Regions from separate parts of the Homo sapiens genome. Here regions 1, 2, 3, 4 and 6 are each linked to region 5. The links are contacts of gene promoters, found by promoter capture Hi-C in blood cells and fetal thymus (Javierre and others, 2016). All regions are on one chromosome and are shown on one strand. Each heading gives the region's core, a stretch centred on a gene start or on the middle of the fragment in contact. The rest is flanking DNA. Distances are from core to core; before and after follow the strand shown.

Region 1 (3,315 bases), core at 155-2,654, 540 kb after region 5:
TCAGATTAACCCAAGAAAATGTAAACCTTGTCTACCCCAAAAAGCTTTTCACAAGCCCAAAGACCATTTAGCTATGAATTCATATTTAAGGTTTTATCGTTGTAACCTCCAACCTTTACCCAAAGTATCCATTAAGTAAAACTTCGGAGGGAGGATGGCTCATTCAGCAACCTCCTTTTACAGATGAAGGGACTGGGGAACAATAGCAGAGAGACTTTTCCAGCCACAGAATAAATCAGTAGAGAGCTAGGTTTAAACACATTTAGCTCTGTAATGCCCAATTATCTCTGGAGTCAGGAAGCGATTTAGGTTTGAAAACGCTACAGGCAGATGTTTCTGTGGGTTGAGTGCATTAACCAATATAACACATGAGCTACCAACACAAATATATTTGTTCTGTGCCAGGAGGTGGCCAGGCACTTTATGAGCGCTATAATTTTACCACCCCGGCCCCAATTCAACAAGCTAAGGATTAGCCCAGTGTTTCAGATGAGGAAGAGGTTAACTTGTTCAGGGCCACAGAATTAGACGTGACATAGCTGGGATTCAAACTGGGGACTATCGATTCTAAAGGGGGAAACAGGATAGAGAACGGGCTAGAAGATAGAGGACGGGCTACAATGGACTGGGCAGTCATGAACCTACTTACAAGATCAAGAGCTGGCAAAGCCTTAAAAATAAGAATAGTTACTGCTTCACTGGGCACTTTTAACGACTGCCTGGCACTGTACTGCGCACTCCACGTGGATTACCTAGTTGAAGCCTCCCAACAGTACTAAGAGGTAGGTACAATCGTTATTCCCATTGGCAAATGAGAAAACGGAGACACAGGAGGTGGAGCGACTGGCTCAAAGGAACACACCGAGCCGCTACCGAACGGGGGAGTCGAAACCAGGTCTGGAAGGCTCATGGGCATCTCCTTAAGTCCTCCTAGGCAGGCCTGGCTGAACCGAAGCCAGAAAAAGCCCACGTTTTACGCGAGAGGCAGGCGGGCCCGGCACAAGCGCGGGACGCGGTGACTCAGTTCCTAGCCAGCCAAAGAGTGGGATAAATTCCAGAACCCCTAGACCCGGAGAAGCGCATCCTAGATCCGGCTTTCTAGGCCGGCGAGGACCCAGAGCTTCCGAAACTCCTCAGACCACTGACGGAGTGACTCTGGGACACCACAGTCCTCAGTTTCCCCATCGGGACAATTGGGCGTCGAGGCCCAGGCCTGGCTCTCAGCCGGTGCGGACAGCCTCCCTCTGCGCTGCTCTCAGAGACGCGCACGGGCTGAGGGGACAGCGGAAGCCGGACCTGGGCCGCCCCTCCAGGCCTGCGGGCCACCGGCGCCCGCCCCTCACCTCCTTTAGGCATTGCGGCTCCGGCGGCTGCGGCGGCGGCGGCGGCGCCTCGAACTGACACCGGAACCGGAAATAGCTTGGGCTCGACTTCTTCCTCCTGGGCCAGCCGCCGCCGCCGCTTCAGTGGCCGCAGTGGCCGCAAGGACCCGGACCTCAGGGAGGCCTCCGCACGAAGTCGGACCGTCCTGCGCGCCGCCTAAGTCCAGGCTTGCCCGTCTGCTGCCAGGCAACAACGCCCCTAGTCTCTCCGTTCGGGAAGACGCGTGGCCCTGCCTGCCACCCACCGGAAGTGAGGGCAAATGGCAACAGCGGCTCTGGAATTCTATACAGGCATTGCTGAGGACACCTAAGATGACGCAATCTCCGCGCGGGTAGGGCGGGGCTCCGCAAGGACCTCATGCCTTAGAGATCGCCTGAAGAGCGGAAGCCTTCTGTCGAGAAGCAGCTACCCAAGCTCCAGGAGCTTCCGGTATGTGTTTTCCCTCTGTTCTCGATTACCTTGGCAACGGCTGAGGCGGGAGACCGGTGGTCTGCACCGTCCTGGAGGGAGATATGAGTGGCTGGACTCTCAGCCAGCCACTGGGATGTGTTCGGGCTTTGGACCTTGAGGCCGGAGAGAGCTCCCGAGAGGAGGCGGCGCCACGTTCGTTCTTCTGAGGGGACGGTAGATTTGGGGGTTTTCCTCTAGGATTCTCGCGCCGTTTCCTCTGGTAGGAACGTCTTCTGTGTTCTGATTGTTTTTCTAAGCTGGGTTCAGATGCTGTCCTTTTTATGAGTTTTCCCTACAATCCTGCACTATCTTCCTTCGCTCCTCCTCGCCTCCTTCCCCTAGCGCCCCAATCTCTCTTACACCTCCCGGCACATCTTTCTTCTCGATCTGATTACCTCCTACGTCCTCTTTCTCCTCGATCTGGTTACCGCCTACCATTTTCACCTCCGAGAGGCCTCTTCTGACTTCCAGGCTGGATCAGGGCCCTCGAATTTCCCTGGGTCGTAGAAAAGCGATCATTCTCTTGTCACAGACTATGCGCCTTGGGGCCGAGACCAGAATTCACCTATTTTTAGCTTCAGCGTAGGGGAGACTAGTGCGAAGACCACTGATTTGGGAGTCAGGAGCCCTCCAGAGTCAGGTTTTGCAAATTCTCAGCTGTGTGACCCTGATTCTACCTTATAGAGTTTGATTCCTCCTCTATATGGTTGTTTTAGAGAGTTCATGAGAGGAGGCTCTGTGGGCGGGGGGGGGGTGGGTCTTTGTAAAGTGTCAGTACAGAAGGGAGTGACTGAATGAATTTGAGAGAGATGAATCTGTTATGCTGAAAGGTAAATACTTAACCTGGGTTCTCTCTGGCAGCAAGGAAATGCTGTGTGGTTTGAAAAACGCTTTGCTATTTAGATTGGGATCGGCCTCTTGTATGGGAACTACCTGACTTTATGTAATATGTTGTTTGGTGTGAAAGAGACCTTGGCAATCAGCCAATCCACTGCCCTCATTTTACAGAAGAAACAGGACCAGAGAGGGAAGGTGACCTGAAAGTCACAGAATAATTTTTTAGAGCTGAACAAGAATCCAAGCCTGCAACTGCAGAGACGAGAGATCTTTCTGCTGTCTATACTCTTGGAAAGCACATCCTAAGGTACTTTGATTTTACAGTCATCTTTCCCTTTTTATTTTATGTTTTGTTTTGTTTTGTTTGTTATTGAGACATGGTCTCACTCCGTCACTTAGGCTGGAGTGCAGTAGTGTGAACATGGCTAACTGAAGACTTTCAACCTCCTGGGCTCAAGTGATCCTCTTGCCTCAGCCTTCCGTGTAGCTCAGACCACAGGCACCCACCACCATGCTCAGTTAATTTTTTTGATTTTTTTTTTTTTTTGGTAGAGATAGGGTTTCACCTCATTGCTCAGACTGGTCTCAAATTCCTGGGCTCAAGTGATCCTCCCATCTCAGCCTCCCAAGGTGCTGGCCAAGACC
Region 2 (3,305 bases), core at 77-2,576, 640 kb before region 5:
ATTTCTGTACCCCTCCCCTGGGCACCCCCATTTCTGTACCCCTCCTCTAGCACCCCAGCCCTGTGTCCCCTCCCTGGCCCCATCTCCTGTGGGACCCGTGGGCACCTTCTTCTCCTCGTGGACCACATAGTAGATGAAGAGGATGCTGTCCCGGACGCCGTCGTGCCCCGTGAACTGCTCCAGGGCCAAGCGCACGTCCACCCACTTGTGGGGCTTCCAGTCGCACCACCACTGCAGCGCCCCGGTCTTCACCCACACCGACTGCGCAGGCCGGGGCAGTGGACACCATCACAGGCAGGCCCGGGGTGCCAGGGGAGGAGGGCGGGGCTGGGGGTGCCCAGAGGAGGAGGCAGGGCTGGGGTAGGGCCCACCCAGCACTCCCGGCTGTCAGCCCAGCTCCCCCTATGCTAATGATAACAGTGACGCTGCCGGACACCCAATAGGTGCAGGCTGAGCCAGGGCTGTTCCGTACAACCTCCTCTCTCTCAAACAGCCAGAGTGGGCACTGCCATCCCGCCTTCTGCATGGGGAGACAGGCTCGGGAGGGTTCCGTGCCTGGCTTTGGTGTCACAGAGTGAGCCAGCGGCAGAGCTAGAACCCAAACCACAGCCTACTTGTGTCCAGGGGCCTTTGGAATGAGGCAGGTCACATGCTCTGTGTGACTTCCCTGTCACCCCCACACTTGACCTCTGAGGGCCGGGCTCTGCCACAGGATAGTGGGGCAGAAGCAGGGTCAGCCCAGGGGTGGGGTCTCCGGCCGCCCTCTGTGCTAACTCCTTGCAATCACACGCTACACCCCTGGGCGCCCGGGGTTCCCTCCAGCAGGAAGAGGATGACGTGGTTCCCCTCCCTGGCCACCCTCCCTTCCCCACCCACCACCCTCTGAGGTTGCTGCCGTCTCTGGGTCCCCAGGGCCTCCAACGAGTCTGGAACACAGTGAGGCCCAAACCAAAGTCTTCAGGATGGACGAAGAAACCCTGAGCTCATTTCTCTATGCCTGCATCTGGGCGGGAGACCAGGGGATGGAGGCATCTATCTGTTTCTCTCAGAGCTGGTACACAGCAGGCGCTCAATGAATGATTGCTGGAAAAAAAAAAAAAATGCATGCGCAGCCACCGGGGCACCCACCTGCTCCACGGCCTGCTCGTAGTGTCTGAAGTTCTCCAGCTCCCGCTTGGTCCTTTCCGTGAGCTGCTGGAAGATCTGCTTCCTCCAGGCAGCGGTCTGGGCCGGCGTGATGGACAGGGACAGCATGTGTACCGAGGAGGACAGGCCTGTGGGGCAGAGAGAGCCTCAGGGCCGGGGCACTGTCCTGCCCGCAGCTGGGCAGGAAGCCACGGCGCTCCCCTCCACCAAATCAGCCCTTTCTAGCTCAAAAGCTACGCTCTCTGTTAAGCCTCCTTCCACCCTTTGCCCTGTTGGATGAGTTGCTCTCCCCCAGTAATTCAGCCTGGAAAGCAGCCACCACCGCTAGCACAGGGGAGGGGCTGCAGACAGGGGAAGGGGCACTGGCCACCGTGCTTCCAGGTCCTGACAGCCTCGGGCTGGTCTCTGGAGGCCACAGAGGAGCGCAATGCCTGGCTCAGAGCTGCTGAGCACAGTGAGGCGTCCAGGGAGGACAGCAGGCCTGCCCGAGCCCCCTGACCCCGGCCTCCTCCCACACCCCACACCCCCAGGGCACCTGGCCATGTGGATGCCCCCAGGCCCTGCAGGAGCCCTTACCCGCCTGGACAGTGAACCATCTGGGCATGGCACATGCCTCCACCACGCAGCCGCCTCCCGACACCCAGGCCCACAGCGGGTGGTCATCCACCCCATACGGCTCCTCCAAGCCCAGTGGGAGGAGCCCCAGAGAGGAGAGGCTGGTGGTCTCGGGGAAGCCAGCGGCCGAGTGGCTGGGCACTTTCTTGGCCTCCTTGAGGTCAATATTGGTCCAGGGCAGCTCGGCCGGGGTGGGGGCCGGGCCGGGGTGCGTGTTGGGTCTGGCCTCCCTGCTGCCCTCGGCTGGGCAGGCATCTTCCACGGTATCTTCTGCGGTCCTGCCAGCCCCCAGGCCTGAGGCTGAGTTCCCTGTGGCATTCTTGGAATCGTCTAGAGGTTCTGCAGGGAGAATCTGGCCAGGCCCTGGTCTCTCGACTTCCGAGGAGGCATCGGTGTCGCTGGGGGCAGACTCGCCACTACCCCTCACCTCATCACCGAAGAAGCAGCCGGCACTGGGGACAAATCAGGGCAGACCCATCACTCCCTTGCAGGGGAACAGGCGCTGTCAGGCAGGCCCAGCTCCAGCGTGCTCCACCATGACTGCCTGTGGAAACTTGGGCAAGTCAGAACCTCTCTGAACTCCTGTCTCTTCCTCTGTGCAAGGTATACATCAGCACCTGCTTCCAGGGAGCTGACACCTGGGCCACCCTGCAGACCAATCACATCCACATATCTGAGAGTGAAGATCTAGAATTAGTATTTCTTCTTTTTTTGAGACGGAGTCTCACTGTCATCCAGGCTGGGGTGCAGGGGCACAATCTCAGCTCACTGCAACCTCCGCCTCCCAGGTTCAAGCGATTCTCCTGCCTCAGCCTCCCGAGTAGCTGAGAGATTACAGGCATGCACCACCACGCCTGGCTAATTTTTGTATTTTTAGTAGAGACGGGGTTTCACCATGTTGGCAGGCTGGTCTTGAACTCCTGACCTCAAGTGATTCGCTGGGCTCAGCCTCCCAAAGTGCTGGGATTACAGGCGTGAGCCACCGCGCCCGATCATAAACCTCTTTTCTTTATAAAAGACCAGCTTCAGGATTCCCTTATAGCAACACAAAATGGACTAAAACGCGTTTTCAAGCCTCTTGGATATACACCCAGCAGTGGATGTGCTGGCTCACATGGCAGTTCTGGGTTTCATGTCTTGAGGAATTGCTAAATTGTTCTCCACAGTGGCTGTACCATTTCACATTCCTACCAGCAGTGTATGAAGTTCCAATTTCTCCATGTTCTCACTAGCATTTGTTATTGTCTTTTTTTTTTTTTTTTTTTTTTTGAGATAGAGTCTTTCTCTGTTGCCCAGGCTGGAGTGTAGTGACGTGATCATAGCTCACTGCAGCCTCGACCTCCTGGGCTCATGTGATCCTCCCACCTCTGCCTTGTAAGTAGCTAGGACTACAGGCCCATGCCACAGCACCCAGATAATTTTTTAAAAAATTCTTGTAGAGATGGGGTCTCACTATGTTGTCCAGGCTGACCTTGAACTCCTGGGCTTAAGCGATCCACCCACTTTGGCCTCCTGAAGTGCTGGGACTGCAGGTGTGAGCTACC
Region 3 (2,967 bases), core at 117-2,616, 600 kb before region 5:
GGGGCAGGATTGTGAGGCCGCATTCTGTCCCCGGTGAGACCTGGCTCTGTCCAGTTCCTCCCGGGCCTCCCAACGCCCCCGATGGCTCCTTCCCCCTGGCCATCTGTCCGGTCCCTCCTTCATGTCGGTCGCTGGCCCACCGGTGACTGCTTGGCTTCTGCTGGAGTTTAAGGGGGCTTTCCGCTGCCCCGTACTGAGGCATCCCCGCATCATTCCTGGGCGTGTCCCCAAGAACAGCCATGGCCTCCACAGTGCAAGCTGAAGGTAGGAGCCCCCGGAACAGACCAGGGAGGCAGTGGAGGGTGGGCTGGGCCAGAGAGAGGATGGGGGCTACCTGCTGGGGAGAAGGGATGGGGGAGTGGAGAGGGGACCCTCCTGCCACAGTGGCATCGGGAGGCCCTGGGGGCTCCTTCCCTCTGTCTCTTCGCCCATGGCAGCCTCTCTTCTTTGGAGAACCCCTCCCCACTGCTGCCCCCCAAGCTCACATGTGCTGCAAAGCCAAGACTCTATGAAACAGCATCTCCAAGCCTCGGTGCCTTCTCCTCCACTCTGCGGCTTGAAGCAGAACCGAGTTCTGGGCACTGCTGGCAAAATAGAATAATGACGGAGAGGAGGAGACCCAGATCCTTATAGGCCCTGAGAGGGTCCCCCCAAACATCATTGCTTGGGGGTGAGTCCTGAAAGCCGCTCCCTTACTGACCAAAGGAAGTGACCTCTCCATCTCAACCTGGGAGTGGTCATTTTTCTGCTTCATCCTAACCAAAGATGATGCCTCCTGTCACCAAACTCAGAGCTCTGGTGACTGGGGACAAGTTTGCCTCAAATTCCACTTCAATTCTCTCTACCATCATAGATTATTTCAATTTTATAATGTTTATGTATTCAGGGGGTTCAAGTACAGATTTCTTTTTTCTTTTTCTTTTTTTTTTTTGAAACGGAGTCTCGCTCTGTTGCCCAAGGCTAGAGTGCAGTGGCGCGATCTCGGCTCACTGCAATCTCCGCCTCCTGGGTTCAAGCAATTCTCCTGTTTCAGTCTAACAAGTAGCTGGGATTACAGGTGTGTACCACCACACCCAGCTAGTTTTTGTATTTTTAGTATAGATGGGGTTTACCATGTTGGCCAGGCTGGTCTTGAACTCCTGACCTCAAATGATCTGCCCACCTTGGCTCCCAAAGTGAGGGAATTACAGGCATGAGCCACCGTGCCCGGCTTTTTTTTTTTTTGAGATGGAGTCTCGCTCTGCTGCCCAGGCTGGAGTGCAGTGGCGCGATCACAAATCACGGCAGCCTCAACCTCCCAGCCTTAAAACACCTCAGCACCCTGCGTAGCTGGGAACACAGGTGCACATCATCATGACTGGCTAATTTTTAAATTTTTTTTTGTAGAGACGGGGTCTTGCTGTGTTGCCCAGGCTGGTCTCAAACTCCTGGGCTCAAGCAATCCTCCTGTCTTGGCCTCCCAAAATGCTGGGATTACAGGCGTGAGACACTGCAGCCAGCCAGCCACAAGGACAGATGCCTTACATGCAGGTATTGCATAGTGCTGAAGTCTGTGCCTTCAGTGCACCTGTCACCAGAATCGTGAACATTGTACCCAACAGGTGATTTTCAGACCTCACCCCCCTCTTGCCCTCCCACCTGTTTCAGTCTCCAATGTCTATTCTGCCACTCAGTATGTCTGTGGGTACCCATCGTTTAGCTCCCACATATAAGTGAGAACATGCCATCATAAATTAAACCACAGCTAACAGATCCCATAGGGAAAGACCTTCTGTCAGTCTGGATAACTTTTTTTTTTTTTTTTTTCTGAGATGGAGTCTTATTCTGTCATCCAGGCTGGAGTACAGTTGCGCAACCTTGGCTCACTGCAACCTCCACCTCCCAGGTTTAAGCAATTCTCCTGCCTCAGCCTCCTGAGCAGCTGGGATTGCAGGTGTGCACCACCACACCCAGTTAAGATTTGTATTTTTAGTAGAGACGGGGTTTCACCATGTTGGCGAGGATGGTCTTGAACTCCTGACCTCAGGTGATCCACCCGCCTCGGCCTCCCAAAGTGATGGAATTACAGGCGTGAACCACCTCGCCTGGCCAACAATCAGGATAACTTTCATTGTCATCTGATAGAGAATAGAAAAGTCACAGAGGTGCCTCATTTTCCCTGAATGACACTTGTAATCTCCAAAACTATCGAGTGAGATCCCAAAGAGCATCAGTCATCTCCACTGGCATCTTCCCTGCCATCTAGGCACTCTCAATTTATTTTATTTTATTTATTTATTTTTTATTTATTTTATTTTATATTTTATTTTATTTTATTCATTTTATTTTATTTTACTTATGAGACGGAGTCTTGCTCTGTCGCCCAGTCTGGAGTGCAGTGGCGCAGTCTCTGCTCACTGCAAGCTCTGCCTCCCAGGTTCACGCCATTCTCCTGCCTCAGCCTCTCGAGTAGCTGGGACTACAGGCGCCCACGACCGAACCCAGCTAATTTTTTGTATTTTTAGTAGAGACGGGGTTTCACCATGTTAGCCAGGATGGTTTCGATCTCCTGACCTTGTGATTCGCCCGCCTCGGCCTCCCAAAGTGCTGGGATTACAGGCGTGAGCCACCGTGCCCGGCCTATTTTATTTTTTAAAATTTTTTAATTTGTGGAGACAGAGTCTAGCTCTATCGTCCAGGCTGGAGTGCAGTGGTGTGATCTCAGCCCACTGCAACCTCCGCCTCCCGGGTTCAAGTGATTCTCCTGCCTCAGCCTCCCAAGTAGCTGGGATTACAGGTGTCTGCCACCATGCCCAGCTAATTTTTGTATTTTTAGTAGAGACGGGGTTTCACTGTGTTGGCCAGGCTGGTCTGGAACTCCTGACCTCATGATCTGCCCACCTCGGCATCCCAAATTGCTGGGATTACAAGCATGAGCCACCGTGCCTGGCTTCAGTTTATTTTTCTTTTTTCTTTATTTTTAAAAGT
Region 4 (3,041 bases), core at 170-2,669, 540 kb before region 5:
GAACAATGATAAGAATGACATCAGACTTCTATTTACAAACCATGCAAGCAAGAAGAGAGTGGAGTAAAATACTTAAGTGTTGGAAGAAAAAATTCACCAACATAGAATTCTTCAGTAAAATCATCCTTCAAAAGTGAAGAAGAGATAAAGACATTCTCAGACAAACAAAAACTGAGGGGATTGGTTACCAGTAGGTCTGACTTGGGAAAAGATGTTAAAAGAAGTTCTTCAGAGACAAAAATCACATAGGTCGGAACTTTGGATCTACATAAAGAAAGGAACAGGGCTGGGCGCAGTGGCTCACACCTGTAATTCCAGCACTTTTGGGAGGCTGAGGCGGGTGGATCACTTGAGGCCAGGAGTTAGAGACCAGCCTGGCCAACATGGTGGAACTCTGTCTCTACCAAAAATATAAAAATTAGCCGGGTGTGGTGGCGCACACCTGTAATCCCAGCTACTCGGGAGGCTGAGGCAGGAGAATTGCTTGAATTCAGGAGGCAGAGGTTGCAGTGACCCGAGATCGCTCCACTGCACTCCAGCCTGGGTGACAGAACAAGACTCCATCTCAAAAAAAAAAAAAAAAAAAAAAAAAAAAAAGACAACATTCTAGATATTTAATGTCACCTTTTCAGTGAGGTACAATCTAGTCTTCCAATACCTAAGGTAGTACTTAGTAAAGATGTCTCCTCTAAAAAGTATAACAAAGTATACAGGCCTGGCGCAGTGGCTCACACCAGTAATCCTAGCACTTTGGGAGGCCAAGGCAGGCGAATCACAACGTCAGGAGTTCGAGACCAGGCTGGCCAACAAGGTGAAACCCCATCCCTACTAAAAATACAAAAAATTAGCTGGGCCTAGTGGTGGGCACCTGTAATCCTAGCTACTCAGGAGGCTAAGGCAAGAGAATCACTTGAACCTGGGAGGCAGAGGTTGCAGTGAGCCGAGATCACGCCGCTGCACTCCAGCCTGGGTTACAGAATGAGACTTCGTCCCCAAAAAAAAAAAAAAAAAAAAAAGTTAGCTGGCATCTCTCCTCAGTTGACAACCTCCAGAAGCCCCATCTGCACCCGGGGTTAAGAGGTAGAGCCCTTGCCAGGACTCTCAAAGCCCTACGCGACCCAGCCTCATGCCTTCTGTCTGCAGACCTCATCCTCGCCTGCCCCTCAGCCACACTGGCTTACATGTGTGACCCAAGCCCACTAAAGCCTCAGGGCCTTTGCACTTGCCAGCTCCCACTAGAATGTTCTCCCCAGACACCTGCCTGATGAGTTCCCCGCAGTGCACGTCCCTGACCACCCTACCTAAAACAGCTGCATCCCACCCCTTCTATCACTCAGTGGCCCCTTGCCTTATTACTACCTGGATATTAGACTTGTTTATCTGTCCACCCCACTAGAATGTTAGTTCCCTGATGGCAGGGACTTCTGTTTCATTGATTTATCCCCAGCAACTAGAACAATGCCTACGAGACAGGAGATGTTCATTTAAATGAGCACACTGGGCCAGGTGCGGTGGCTCACACCTATAATCCCAGCACTTTGGGAGGCCGAGGCAGGCGGATCACCTGAGGTCAGGAGTTCAAGACCAGCCTGGCCAACTTGGTGAAACCTCACCTCTACTAAAAATACAAAAAATTAGCTGGGCGTGGTGGTGGGCGCCTGTAATCCCAGTTACTCAGGATGTCGAGGCAGGAGAATCACTTCAACCTGGGAGGTGGAGGTTACAGTGAGCTGAGGTCATGGCACTGCACTCCAGCCTGGGCAACAGAGGAAGACTCTGTCTCAAAATAAATAAATAAATAAATATAAAATAAATGAGCACACTGGTATTTAAATATCAAAGAAAAACTACTGCAATTTCTTGATTATTAGACATTTGGTTTTATGTCATTTTCAGAATACCAAGGGATAACTACCCCGCCCACCCTCCCCAAACTAAGGGACAATTTTCCCCACGAACCAAGAAGAAACAAACCCTGTACCCAATCCCAGTACTCCAGTCTTCATCTTCCTCCCTGGCTCACGGCTCCACGATGGTGCCAAGGCTCATGTGTGGAATGTTACATTTTAAAAAGCGGTGCACAAAGTCTATAGGCACAGGGTTTAATTATGTAAAAAGAGGCATTTAAAAATAATAAAGTTAGAAATTGAGTTTGATGTTTATTAGGTTCATTTCTCAGTAAAGGTATACATTTAAAAAACACATAAAGTATATTTTAATTCCCATTTTAAAATGAAAGTACATTTCTAAACTTCCCGGGGGACTCATAAGCTATTTTAAAATGTTAATATGAAATGAGAAATTAGGCAGAAGAATAAACATGGCCTAAGATTAAAATGTTTAATCAAATAAGAAGAAAAAGAGAGATCTTAGTAGGTAACAAATTTCTATAGTTATAAAAATGGAAGCTACTAACAGCCCTGCCTTCGAGTTTAAATGCCTGAGTCACACAGATCAGCATCAGTGCACCCAAGAGTTATAGGAACAGGCTTACTCTGGAGTCTAAAAGTCCAGCTTCATTGTAAAGAGCTCACCATTTAATATGCCTCTTCAGTCACCTAGTAATTTTTATTTTACCTTTGAACTCATACTTCTAAAATATTAGTCAGTTTTTTTTTAATAACTCAAAACCTTTTAGTCCTAATAATACCAATTCTTATTTCAATTTGAAACAAGAACATACAAACCCAGAATCTGCAGCCTGGCACACAAAATAACGAGGCTCATTAAGGGGTTTTTGTTTTTTTGAGACAGAGTCTTGCTCCGTCACCCAGGCTGGAGTGCAGTGGCACGACCTCGGCTCACTGCAACCTCTGCCTCCTAGGTTCGAGCAATTCTGTCTCAGCCTTCCGAGTAGCTGGGACTGACTATAGGTGCCCCCCACCACGCCCAGCTACTTTTTGTATTTTTAGTAGAGATGTGGTTTCACCATATTGGTCAGGCTGGTCTCGAACTCCTGACCTCAGGTGATCCGCCCGCCTCGGCCTCCCAAAGTGCTGGGATTACAGGCGTGAGCCACCTTGCCTGGCCAAGTTTTTAAA
Region 5 (3,018 bases), core at 54-2,553:
TAGAATGGGAACCACACATGATTTCCAAATAATTAATTCACTTTTGTTATTATTTTCTTTTTCTTTTGCAATTTAGGACACATTGAAAATCTCTGACACAAATCAACCTGATGGACAAGAGACCCCTTTCCTGTATTTCCAGGAGGAAATAGGTAATCTTGTCCAAGTGCAATTCCCATAAAATTCGTCTAATTCATCCCTGAGTTGCAGGTTTTCTTTGACCTCATGGTTTTTCTTTCACAAATTTTCATTAGATCCCTTGCTCTCTCTCTCCACCGCTCTTTTATGAGGGGGGAGGGGGTGAAAAGTGGTGGATAGTATTCAACCTTCTTAGCTGCCCACGTCCCATCTGTCCCTCGAATAGTCTTAAATCTGGGTCCTTTTATGGTTCCCAAAATGTGGCAGAGAGGTGGGTGCTGGCTTTCTGGCGGTGGGGAAGTGGGGGCAGTAGACACACAACCCTGCTTCCCCCACTCCCCCACCCACACACACACCCCAGGAACCTGTCAGCTCCGGGTCCATTTTGGAAATCACCACCAGAGAGGAAATGGCAGCCTGGCCTCCTGGGCTCTAAATTCGCATCTCCCCAAAGCCAGCACCAACACGGTGGGAAACCCCTCTAGATGAGGCGACATTTTAAGGCAAAAACGTTGCCCATCCCGTGCTCCCTGGGGGACTGGGGAATTGTGGCGCGATGACGGACCCTGGCGCATCCCCGCCTCCCTGCCTCGTCCTCCCCTCCCTTAGCGGGTGCATGGTCCCCAGGCATCGACGGATGCGCCGGCCACCCCCGCGCGGTTTCCAGGGCAGGGCCAGCCTGGGGGGGTGGAAGCAGGAATCCAGGGGGTGCGGGGAGCCCCCTCCAGTGCCCAGGCGACTTTGGGGAACAAGGATGAAAGGAGAGGGGAAAGGGCGCTGCAGTGGCCTCAGCCGAGGAGGGAGATGCGCGCAGGGCGCACGGTGCCACCTCCGCAATCCCTGCTCCCGGGCCCACTCGCCCGCTGAGACGGTTCCAGGCCCCGGGCGGGCTGCGGCTGCAGGGAGGCCGGATTGCCCAGCGCCTTACCTGCGGCCACCCCTGCCGGGGCCCAGGGCAGGAGGCAGGCAAGCCAGAGGATGCGGCCGAGGCGCGACCACACTGCCTGGGCCATTGCGGGGCCCGGAGCGGGAGAAGCGTGGGGCGGACGCGGAGGGAATGCAGCTGGAGCTCGAGAACTGCGGCGGTCGCTCCTCCGGGCGCGCAGCGCGGGCGGTGCGGGGAGGTGCGGGCGCCGTGCTCGCTCGTCCTCGCCGGGGGACGCTCTGTCGCTGCGCGCCGCCGCCGCCGCCCACAGCCCGCTGCGCGACCCCGGCCCACGTCAGCCGCGCCGCGCGCCCTCCTCCTCCTCCCGCCGCCCCTTGCTCCCGCGTCCCTCTCCACGGCCGCGTCCTCCCTCTCCGGGTCTCTTCCCACGGCCGCGCCCCCTGCCCTCCTGGAGTCCACGATCGCCCCTCCCAGCTTGCTTCCCCTCTAGGGGTTCCAGAGCTCCCTTCCTGCGCCCTGGCTCCTCCCCGCATCCCTCCCCACCCCAAATCCACCCCCGGCCGCATCCTTCCCCTCCACTACCCGAAACCACGCCCCCCGCACCCGCATTTTTCCCTTCCCCCGAGCCCCTCCCCGCCCTGGATCCGATGCCGCCGGCTCTGACTCAGCGTCCCCAGGGGCGTGCGCTGCGCTGCAAGCCGCCTGCAGGTCCCTTGGGGCTCTCCTCCAGGTGCCTTCTCTCTGCACGCTCGTGGCTCCGAGATGCTACTCCTCATTCAAGAACTGTTGAGAGCTTAAGGTGCGCCAGGCGTTGGGCGAAAGGCCTCGAAATTCCTCTTGCTGCTGCTGCTGCTGCTGCTTCCTCTTTTCTTTTTTTTTTTTTTTTAATCTTGAGACAGAGTCTCGCTCTGTCCCAGAATGGCGCGATCTCGGCTCACTGCAACCTCCGCCTCCCGGGTTCAAGCGATTCTCCTGCCTCAGCCTCCCTAGTAAGATGGGATTACAGGTGCCCGCCACCAGGCCTGGCTAATTTTTGTATTTTTAGTAGAGACGGGGTTTCACCATGTTGGCCAGGTTGGTCTCAAACTCCTGGCCTCAAGTGATCCTCTCGCCTCAGCCTCCCAAAATGTTGGGATTACAGGTGTAAGCCACTGTGCCCAGCCTCTTGCCCCTTCTTGATAGAGGGGCCTGAGCACCCGGCCCCTGCCGTGGGCTTGATGTCATCCCCCGGTTTACCCTCTCACAGCTGCTGTTAAGATGGGGCTCCTGCTCGTATCTGGGCCCAGGGCAACTTCTTTGTCACTGAGGGCCTTGTGGGAGTCAGGCTACTGCGGTGAGGGGTGACCAGCCTACACAGTTACTGCCATTTGCCTTAGAGGAGCAGGGCTGGGCTCTCCTAGAAGCTGGAGGGGCCTGGCTGGCCTTAAACGCTGGAAGCCCGGTGGGTTCTGGTCCCAGCTATGCTTCCGCTTTGCTACGGCTACCTGGGCGAGGGATCCTCCCACACAGTGAGGGCCTTTGACCTCCTCTCTGGCCCGTGGAGCACGGATGGACCATCACTGCACCACCCAGTGCATTGACATCAAGGCGTCTAAAGCAGGGGTCTCCAAGCCCCTGGCCGCCAGTACCAGTCCATAGCCTGTTAGGAACTGGCTGCACAGCAGGAGGTGAGCAGGGCCTGTGAGCCACGCTGAGCTCCACCTCCTGGCAGATCAGCAGGGCATTAGATTCTCATAGGAGCGCAAACCCTACTGTGAACTGCTCACGTGAGGGATCAAGGTTGCGTGCTCCTTATGAGAATCTAATGCCTGATGTTCTGTCACTGTTTCCCATCATCCCCAGATGGGACCATCTAGTTGCAAGAAAGCAAGCTCAGGGCTCCCACTGATTCTACATGATGGTGAGTATGTAATCATAATAGAAATAAAGTATACAATAAAAGTAATGCGCTTGAATCATCCCGAAACCATCCCTCCAACCCCTCATTCGTGGAA
Region 6 (3,215 bases), core at 648-3,147, 570 kb before region 5:
GCCCGATGCCAGCGCTAGAGCGCAGGCCGTTCCTGGACATGGAGGCCCAGGCCAGGCCTCCTCTGGGATGGCCTCCACTGCATGTTGGGTGTACAGGCTGTGGAGACGGAAGGCAGTTTGGGAGCCCCAGGGCTGTGCCTGAGACCTGTCCCACCCTCCCCAGATCCCCTGGGCAGGGCATCTGGGGCCAATTCATTGTCTGCTTTTCATCACTGGAGCACAAAGCCACTGACCTGCCTTGCACATCCTACAGGGCTTTAAATGGCCGCAAAAGTGACTTCCTGCGGGGCACTCAACGCTTCCCTAGCAGGCCTCAGAGGAAGTCCTTGCTGGTGTGAGGTGCATGCTCTGCGATTATGATGGGCTAATTTATGATTTAAATGCACCAGGGTGCCTGTCGCATGTGCTCACGGTGCTGGCATTCGTGGACTCTGTTGCAGAAGGGCCATGGCTGGGCCTGAGGCACGATTCATGCCAATCCTGACTCCACTCTGCCCTCCCCTCCTCTCCCACTGGAGTCATCTGACTCCTTGGGGCCAACACCATCTCCCTCACATGTGCAGCTTATGCTAGGGGAAGGCGCTTCCCAAACTAGAAACCAGAAACACCCTCCACCCACCCCAAGCACACCCCGGAGCTTGTTCAGAGCCTCCTGGGCCCCCACGGGACTTTAAAAAGGTCCCAGTAAATCCTCACAAAGAACGCAGCAAGAAGCACCGACTCCTGCCAGGAGGACTGAGGAGGAAAAAGAACGCTTAAGATGACAGCTGGAAGCCACTCAGTGTTGGGCCAACCCCGTGCACGCATGCCTGGGGCCCAACAATCCTGCTCCCTGTAGGAACAAGCAGGGCACACACCCATGGGCACCGAGACACTCGGGCAGCCCTGGAGAAACAGCCCAGACCAGAAACACCAGACGCCCGTCAATGGGAGAGTCAGAACCAGCTTCTGTGCAGACAGCAGGTCACCACACAGCACTGAGCGACTGTCCCTACGGGGCCACCCCAGACAGCCATCTCTGTGCCAGGGCTTGGGGAGTCTGGTGTTGGAGAAGGGATGGTCACGGAGGTGGGCCATGCTGGGTGATCGTGGGGGCCGGGAACGTCCTGCTGGGTATACGGAGTCACATCATGAAAATTCATTGTGTGCTTTTCTGTCTGTGGTATTCTGTAATACAATGTTTACTTTAAAATATGTATTGGGCCAGGGACAGTGGCTCATGCCTGTAATCCCAGCACTTTGGGAGGCTGAGGTGGGCGCATCACCTGAGGTCGGGAGTTCGAGACCAGCCTGACCAACATGGAGAAACCCCGTCTCTACTAAAAATACAAAATTAGCTGGGTGTGGTGGCGCACGCCGGTAATCCCAGCTACTCAGGAGGCTGAGGCAGGAGAATCGCTTGAACAGGGAGGCAGAGGTTGTGGTGAGCTGAGATTGCACCACTGCACTCCAGCCTGGGCAACAGAGTGAGACTCCATCTGTAAAAAACAAAAAAACAAAAAACCAACAAAACAAAAACAGAAACAACAAAAACATATTGGACGTGTTCAGGCAGATTTCCCGTTTAACATCTGCATGTTTCTCAGGGACCTGAAACCCCAGCACTCCTTCTGGATACAAGGCTGGCAGGAGCCTCTCTGCCTCCCTCTCCACTGCAAAGGAGACCCACGAGGGCAGGGGCTTGGCACATACGGTGCCTCTTATCTGGTGGCCCCCAAGGGTCTCACAGCATCCTCCCTGCGTCCCTGTCTCAACCGCATACCTCACACTCAGCCCACTGTGGTGGTCACTGAACATAGACCTGCCCTCCTCTCTGTTCCCTTTCCTTGCAGTGGGGGACACCTCCAAGCCACAGGCAGCACTGCCACCGGCACCCAGGGCCCCGCGGGCACTGCCTGCTGCATGTCCTGTGTCCCCAACAAGACAGGAGACCACTAAGGCCACGAAACCAGCAGCCACTACGAGAGTGGTTGGGCTGCAACTGGAGACTATAGAGCGAGGCCACCAAGCGGCTGACTGCGGCCAGGGTGGACACATCTTGTGATCCCCCATCTCCCGCAAGAATCCAAGAATCCAAAATGTGTGTGTGGACACTGGCTGACCACCCATCACTCGATGCCTGGTCCACACCCCCTTCCCGACTGTACGGAGCTTCCAGGGTGCCCACCACATAGCCATGCGCCCAGGTTGGGGGACTAGTTGACCTGGCTTTCAGAGGGGTCCCGGGCAGCTCGGAGCACCGAGCACCACTTTTTCCCTTGGGCTGCAGCAGAGAATGCTGGTGGCCCTCACTGCAGAGGGCAGGACAGAGTGAACAGGGCCAGTGCAGGTGGCCTTGCTCCTGAGCAGAATGGAACAGCCCTAAGGAACATTTCCAAGCCAGCTGGAGGCCAGTTACTCGCAACAAAAGTGGCCCTCACTGACACCTGTCTTCAGTGTGAAAACCCATTCCAGTCCTCGTCTGTGGCCCGGACTTGTCTTCCAGTTCACTTCTGATCTAGTTCAACCCCTTTATTCTCAAAAGGGGGACGCTGAGGCCCAAACAGGGAAAAGCCAACTGCTCCGAGCCACTGGGATCTTTTTGGAAGCCGAGGCACCCATGTTGTGACGCAAACGAAGATGCGTGCAGGCCTGCACCGGGGGCACTGGCGGCTCTCAGGAGGGGCTCACGCCACGTGAGGGCGCGCTGTGAAATGCAGGCTTGCTTTTACAAAGGAGAGCTGTGTGCTTATTTAAAATGTTGGGAGGGAGCCAATACTTCCTCACTTGGAACTGCAGTAGAAAATACGTAAATTAAAAAAATTCAGGCCGGGCACAGTGGCTCACGCCTGTAATCCCAGCACCTTGGGAGGCCAAGGCAGGAGGACTGCCTGAGGTCAGGAGTTCAAGACCAGCCTGGGCAACATAACAGGATCTTATCATTGTTAATAAAAACTTAAAGAGATATCACGTGACCTGTGGCAAACCCCTAGCTTGAGTCCTGGCAAGTCTCCCCTGCCCCCTTGGGAGAAGCCCCTGCTCTCAGATCGTCTAATAAGACGCGCCGTCACAGGACAGCTGTGGGGCTTCCCAGGTGAGTGGGATGCTCTATGGACACCTAAGGTTAAGCATTCCAGTGTCACACGACCTGTAACTCACAGGAGCTGGATATAAAACCATGTATAAAAATGCTTTTAAAAAACATTAGGGGCTGGGTGCGGTGGCTCACGCCTGTA

The links. The method cuts DNA at HindIII sites, captures the fragments that hold promoters and counts their contacts. A CHiCAGO score of 5 or more calls a contact.
Region 1: the fragment with the promoter of PDAP1 here is called in contact with the fragment with the promoter of TMEM130 in region 5 in 2 of 17 cell types (M2 macrophages and monocytes); the score reaches 7.6 in M2 macrophages.
Region 2: a fragment that was not itself captured here is called in contact with the fragment with the promoter of TMEM130 in region 5 in 8 of 17 cell types (naive CD8 T cells, total CD8 T cells, M0 macrophages and 5 more); the score reaches 7.1 in naive CD8 T cells.
Region 3: a fragment that was not itself captured here is called in contact with the fragment with the promoter of TMEM130 in region 5 in 5 of 17 cell types (total B cells, naive B cells, total CD8 T cells and 2 more); the score reaches 7.3 in total B cells.
Region 4: a contact is called between a fragment that was not itself captured here and the fragment with the promoter of TMEM130 in region 5, in 9 of 17 cell types (naive B cells, total B cells, endothelial precursors and 6 more). The highest score is 11.9, in naive B cells.
Region 6: a fragment that was not itself captured here is called in contact with the fragment with the promoter of TMEM130 in region 5 in 16 of 17 cell types (naive B cells, total B cells, M1 macrophages and 13 more); the score reaches 22.8 in naive B cells.

The regions. Positions count from the first base shown.
Region 1 is chr7:99,407,193-99,410,507 of GRCh38, forward strand. It overlaps PDAP1 (PDGFA associated protein 1), which reads right to left and starts at 1,405. Exons shown (of 6, transcript NM_014891.7): 1 at 1,344-1,405. The coding sequence starts at 1,356. It overlaps BUD31 (BUD31 spliceosome associated protein), which reads left to right and starts at 1,777. Exons shown (of 6, transcript NM_003910.4): 1 at 1,777-2,053; 2 at 2,842-2,977. It overlaps MIR12119 (microRNA 12119), which reads left to right and starts at 1,980; the gene lies at 1,980-2,072. RefSeq lists a silencer at 1,174-1,233 and an enhancer at 1,444-1,833. The HindIII fragment of the contact is 3,476 bases long and covers 43-3,315 here.
Region 2 is chr7:98,231,699-98,235,003 of GRCh38, forward strand. TECPR1 (tectonin beta-propeller repeat containing 1) reads right to left here. Exons shown (of 26, transcript NM_015395.3): 11 at 1,723-2,213; 12 at 1,129-1,274; 13 at 106-261. Among named protein-coding and RNA genes, the nearest start is that of TECPR1, 19 kb to the right of the region's middle. RefSeq lists a silencer at 105-305. The HindIII fragment of the contact is 4,336 bases long and covers 1-3,305 here.
Region 3 is chr7:98,270,372-98,273,338 of GRCh38, forward strand. LOC124901705 (a long non-coding RNA gene) reads right to left here and starts at 592. Exons shown (of 3, transcript XR_007060446.1): 1 at 486-592. The HindIII fragment of the contact is 5,981 bases long and covers 1-2,967 here.
Region 4 is chr7:98,331,816-98,334,856 of GRCh38, forward strand. The region is part of intron 3 of BAIAP2L1 (BAR/IMD domain containing adaptor protein 2 like 1); the gene reads right to left. Among named protein-coding and RNA genes, the nearest start is that of BRI3, 52 kb to the left of the region's middle. RefSeq lists a silencer at 2,329-2,529. The HindIII fragment of the contact is 7,452 bases long and covers 1-3,041 here.
Region 5 is chr7:98,868,711-98,871,728 of GRCh38, forward strand. TMEM130 (transmembrane protein 130) reads right to left here and starts at 1,304. Exons shown (of 8, transcript NM_152913.3): 1 at 1,067-1,304. The coding sequence starts at 1,151. RefSeq lists enhancers at 202-788, 789-1,374. The HindIII fragment of the contact is 4,583 bases long and covers 1-3,018 here.
Region 6 is chr7:98,295,143-98,298,357 of GRCh38, forward strand. The region is part of intron 12 of BAIAP2L1 (BAR/IMD domain containing adaptor protein 2 like 1); the gene reads right to left. It also overlaps a transcript of BRI3 not described here. Among named protein-coding and RNA genes, the nearest start is that of BRI3, 15 kb to the left of the region's middle. RefSeq lists enhancers at 1-163, 1,497-1,998 and a silencer at 772-886. The HindIII fragment of the contact is 4,957 bases long and covers 1-3,215 here.